2 separate regions of the Homo sapiens genome follow, and region 1 is linked to region 2. Evidence: promoter capture Hi-C in 16 types of primary human blood cells and fetal thymus (Javierre and others, 2016). All regions are on one chromosome and are shown on one strand. The core of a region is centred on a gene start or on the middle of the fragment in contact, and the rest is flanking DNA. Distances in the headings are between cores, read along the strand shown.

Evidence for each region. Contacts are between HindIII fragments. The CHiCAGO score rates a contact against its expected background, and 5 or more counts as called.
Region 1: a fragment that was not itself captured here is called in contact with the fragment with the promoter of LAS1L in region 2 in 1 of 17 cell types (neutrophils); the score reaches 6.6 in neutrophils.

The regions. Positions count from the first base shown.
Region 1 is chrX:68,485,240-68,488,116 of GRCh38, reverse strand. No RefSeq gene overlaps it. Among named protein-coding and RNA genes, the nearest start is that of YIPF6, 12 kb to the left of the region's middle. The HindIII fragment of the contact is 1,704 bases long and covers 730-2,433 here.
Region 2 is chrX:65,533,245-65,536,105 of GRCh38, reverse strand. It overlaps LAS1L (LAS1 like ribosome biogenesis factor), which reads left to right and starts at 1,319. Exons shown (of 14, transcript NM_031206.7): 1 at 1,319-1,626; 2 at 2,371-2,496. The coding sequence starts at 1,391. RefSeq lists an enhancer at 1,045-1,224. The HindIII fragment of the contact is 19,270 bases long and covers 1-2,861 here.

The DNA of each region.
Region 1 (2,877 bases), core at 332-2,831, 3.0 Mb before region 2:
GGCATGACCAAGGGCAGCAGAGGCCACTGAGTTCCTAACACACTGCATGCAGTCCCTTAGGATGAGTAGATGACTCACTAATATCTGAACTACTTGGATGCAGATGTATGTATGTATGTATGTATGTGTGTATTTATTTATTTTTTTTTTTTGAGGCTCACTGCAGCCTCAAACTCAGGCCTTCAAGTGCTTCTCCTGTCTTGGCCTCCCAAAGTGCTGGGATTACAGGTGTGAGACACTGCTCCCAGCCTACACAAATTTAAAATATAGTTAATTCTTCAGTCCAGCCCTCCAAATCATTTCCTACCTCTGTCCATGTGTGGATTCTCAGAAAAGCACAAAGCTTTAATGTATGTGAAACAAGGTCTAAGAAAAAGCAAGCAATAAAAGCTCAGGGAAAGAGACAAGACCAACTCACGCCTACACTTCGATCCTACTGAGACCTACAATCCACTGATTTGCCACAGTTTTACTGTCTTTCATCCCCCTGATGTCCACTTTTTTCTCTTTATTCAGTTTAAACTCCACTGGCAATCACCACAATCGTTTCTTTGCAACATTCTCAACTCCCTTACCCGTCTTTTGCTTTTATTGCACTCATTTGGCAAGAATACAGACCTGGTTAAACCCAACACTCTGTATACTTCGTGTTTGCATCGTCAGCTAAATGTAATCAGAGAAAAACATACAACTTTGCTGACTGGTCTCACTTTAAGGGACCACAAAGCTTCATAGACCTTTAATGCTGCCTGGTGATCACACAAATTTCTTAAGTCCATTTACTTGCCCACTCACCTAAAGATTATATCATACCTTCTTTCTCCTCAAAACTTCAATGTCTCCTCTCCAATCCTGAATTTCAGATGAAAACTTTGCCCCCTACTTCACTGAGAAAATAAAAGCAATCCAAAGAGACCTTCTATTGACCACCACATGTACCCACTTGTTAGCATCCATAAGCACATTCTCTGCCATTTCTCCTCACAATCAACTGTATTATCTAAGGCACTTATATACTAGGTCTGATCCCATATCTTCCCACTCAAGGATAACATCTCAAGATTAAAAGGAAAAGTTCACATATATGAAATGACTGCATTTAAGCAGATTAAAAATATTAACTAACATCTGTATGAACTCTACTATTTTACAAACTAATTGCACGTACATTTTTGTACCTTATCTTCACAAAAATTCTATGAGGTAGGTTTTATTCTTATTCCCATTTTGCAAGAAAATGAGACTTCAAAGAGGTAAATTATTTGCTCCAAATTGCTTGGAAATTTGGTTAGTGGTAAAGATGGAATTGAAATTTAGGCCAAGAACATCAGAGAAATGCAAATCAAAACCACAATGAGATACCATCTCACACCAGTTAGAATGGCAATCATTAAAAAGTCAGGAAACAACAGGTGCTGGAGAGGATGTGGAGAAATAGAAACACTTTTACACTGTTGGTGGGACTGTAAACTAGTTCAACCATTGTGGAAGTCAGTGTGGCGATTCCTCAGGGATCTAGAACTAGAAATACCATTTCACCCAGCCATCCCATTACTGGGTATATACCCAAAGGACTATAAATCATGCTGCTATAAAGACACATGCACACGTATGTTTATTGTGGCACTATTCACAATAGCAAAGACTTGGAACCAACCTAAATGTCCAACAATGATAGAGTGGATTAAGAAAATGTGGCACATATACACCATGGAATACTATGCAGCCATAAAAAAGGATGAGTTCATGTCCTTTGTAGGGACATGGATGAAACTGGAAATCATCATTCTCAGTAAACTATCGCAAGGACAAAAAACCAAACACCGCATGTTCTCACTTATACATGGGAATTGAACAATGAGAACACATGGACACAGGAAGGGGAACATCACACTCTGGGGACTGTTGCAGGGTGGGGGGAGGGGGGAGGGATAGCATTAGGAGATATACCTAATGCTAAATGACGAGTTAATGGGTGCAGCACACCAACATGGCACATGTATACATATGTAACTAACCTGCACATTGTGCACATGTACCCTAAAACTTAAAGTATAATAATAATAATAATAATAATAATAATAAAGAAATTTAGGCCAAGAATAATAATGGAAAATTGGTTTTTATTTTTAATTTACATGAAAGTGCTATGTACAAATCTATGCAAATAAGTTTGAAAGCATCAAGGAGATAGACTGTTTCTTAGAAAAATTTAAGTGTTCAAACTGACCCAAGAGAATTTAGGAAACCTCATCAGAACAATGACTATGTAAAAATATCTTTAAAACTCTCAGAGAATCAGGCTGGCGCCATGACTCACTCCTGTAATTCCAGCACTTTGGGAGGCCGAGGCGGGCGGATCACTTGGGTCAGGAGTTCGAGACCAGCCTGGCCAAAATAGCAAAACCCTGTCTCTACTAAAAATACAAAGCTTAGCTGGGTGGGGTGGGGCATCCCGTAATCCCAGCTACTCCACAGGCTGAGGCATGAGAATTGCTTGAACCCAGGAAGCGAGGTTGCAGTGAGCTGAGATCGTGCCAGTGCACTCCAGCTTGGGCTTCAGAGTGAGACTCCATCTCAAAAACAAACAACTGTCAGAGAATCAGTCCTCTAAATCAAAAGTTGCCAAATATTTTCTGTAAAAGGCTAGATAGTAAATGTTTTAGGTTATGTAGACCATCAATTGTCTCTGTTGCATATTATTCTTTTATGTCTTTTTGTTTTGGGTTTTTACAGATCTTAAAAATGCAGAAACCGGTCTGACACGGTTGTTCCTGCCTGTAATCCCAGTACTTTGGGAGGTCGAGGCAGGAGGATCACTTGAGCCCAGAAGTTCGAGACCAGCCCGGGTAACATGGAGAAACCCCCATCTCTACA
Region 2 (2,861 bases), core at 70-2,569:
CTATAGGCAGACTATATCTTAGGAAAAGTTGGCTGGAGAAAGAAGCACATATAGAGGATGAATTGGGATTTGTTGCTGTGAAGCGTAAAAGTGCCACTCACAGCAATGCTGTTAAGATCGTTAGCAACAGTTCTCTCTCTCTCTCTCTCAAGTGTTACATTGGAAAATAACTTCTGCAAGAAGGATTGGGACATAGTCCTAAACATATTTCAGTCAACTCGTAAAATCGGAGGAACTTCATAATACCGCTTTTCTCCCAGAACTCCAAAATACCAAGGAATTTTGCAGAAAAACTAAGTATACCTTGGTGGATGTTGAAACCAACATAGCAGTGGAATGTTGGCAGAGTAAAATTCTACAATTTTCTGCTATGACAGAGAACCTAGAGACCAGTCTACAACTCTCACTGTACAGATGGGAAAACTGAGACTAGTCTAAGTCCACATAGTTAGTGGCAAAATTTAGAGTAAAACTCAGGTCTCTAGGCTGGTATTTATTTATTTATTTATGTATGTATTTATTTAATTTACTTTTGAGACAGAGTCTCGATCTGTCACCCAGGGTGGAGTGCACTGGTGCGATCTTGGCTTGTTGCAGCCTCCGCCTCCCGGATTCAAGCGATTCTTGTGCCTCAGCCTCCTGAGTAACTGGGATTACAGGCATGTGCAACCATGCTTAGCTAATTTTTGTATTTTTACTAGAGACCGGGTTTCACCATTTTGGCCAGGCTGGTCTGGAACTCCTGACCTCAAGTGATCCGCCCGCCTGGGCCTCCCAATGTGCTGGGATTACAGGCGTGAGCCACCACGCCTGGCCAGGCTGGTACTAATTTAAAAGGCAGGGCCCCTGGTTACCTGCCACAAAAGCAGATTTTTTCAACCCAACTGTAACTGTTTCGATATGAGATATTTCCTCTGTAGCCCTGCTTCAGTGTCCAGTGTTTTACTAGGTTAGGTCCTGATTCACGGCAATAAAAATATACTTAAAATCGCATTTTCAGTTCACTGGATGACTACAATCAAGCTGCCACCCGCCGAGGGGAGCAAAATAAAATTCCTCTTGCAGTGAAGACATACCGCTTCCGGTCTGGTACAGAAGCCGGTTAGCAACCAGGAAATTGGCGGAACCTAGAGGCTGAACTCTTGCCCCTGGAGGGTTTGCTTTGTGAAAAGAACACTTCCGGCCGGTGAGTTTTTAACCCCGCATGTCATTAGGTCGGCGCCCAATTCTGACGTTCCGATTGGCCATGCTGACGCTGGAAGGCGGGCTTGCGTATGGGGTCACGCTCTCCTATTGGCTGCTGGTGCGGTGGCGGTTCGGAGTGAGGGTAGCACGCTGAGCTGAAGGCTGTGCGGAGCGGCGCGGCACAGAGCCTGTTGTTGAGCTCAGTATGTCGTGGGAATCCGGGGCCGGGCCAGGTCTAGGTTCCCAGGGGATGGATCTCGTGTGGAGTGCGTGGTACGGAAAGTGCGTTAAAGGGAAAGGGTCGTTGCCACTCTCGGCCCACGGCATCGTGGTCGCCTGGCTCAGCAGGGCCGAGTGGGACCAGGTGACGGTTTATCTGTTCTGTGACGACCATAAGTTGCAGCGGTACGCGCTTAACCGCATCACGGTGTGGAGGAGCAGGTAAGGTGGCGGGTTCGGCCCTTTTGCCTGCGTGCTGGTGGCGCTGCACCTCTTCCTTTGTCGAGTTTCTATAAGGCCCTGTTCTCCAGTCTTCCCCTAAGTCGCCTAAAGTTGTCCCTCTCCCAAATGCCTGGGGGAACGCGGCAGCCATCTCTTGCGCTAATCCCGTTAGCGGAATGGAAAGTAAGGGGTTGTGCCTCAACAATTCTCTTGTTATATCTGTGAGGTTTACCCATTACCTCCAAAAAGTGACTTTCTCCCAACTTGGAGAGGATGCCGGAGGGACTAGTGAGGCCTGAGCCAGGGCTTAAGGAGTAGATTAGTACCCTAGGGTAGATTTCCGATTCCAATGGGGAGGAAGTCTTGCCTGCAAGACAGTGTTTGAGTGGGGCGCCTCAGTCCAGTTGGTAAGATTGAGTTGGGAGCCGACTTACAAGGGATAAGGGGCTCCTCTAGCTCAATGAGTTGATTTGGGGGTGAAAGAAAGGGGTGTGTCCACACAACTGTTGATGGACAGTCTACCAGTTAGGTGTCCTGTATACGGCCTAGTCAGCTCCTCATGCCCTGTATACTGTTGGATCCCACAGACATTACCGTGTCTCCTCCCACCTTCTTGTTTTGTGTCTGTTCATGCTCTCTTGAACCAGAATATGATGGGTGTAGCCTGCAACAACCTAGGTTCTGAGGTGGAGGGTGGACCAGTGTAAGGGCTCTTTATGATGGTGCTGGACTGTGACCCTTTAGGTCAGGCAACGAACTCCCTCTGGCAGTGGCTTCTACTGCTGACCTGATACGCTGTAAGCTCTTGGATGTAACTGGTGGCTTGGGCACTGATGAACTTAGACTGCTCTATGGCATGGCATTGGTCAGGTAAGACCTGCATGGGGTAGGGGTGGAGGTTGGCTTTGGGGACTGGAGGCAGGGGAGGCATGTGATAAGCAAAACTTGGCTTCAGGTGTTACCTGAAGCAAAACCCTGCGTGTACCTCACTGTGGATCAGCCTGTGATTATTGCTTGACTTATCAGCTTTTGGTACCCTCGTCAACGCATTCCTCTTTTTCTTCCTTTTTCCTGAAAGCCTTCTCTTCCATTTTTCTTTCTATCTTGGAATGTGGAGGAAGGGATTCAGACCAGGTGATCTCTGTGGGTCTCTTGGTGGTCTGATATTTTTTCTTACCTTTGAATTCCTCACCCAGAGGAACTTGTCTGAATGGCTCAGGGTCCTCGCCTGTGAT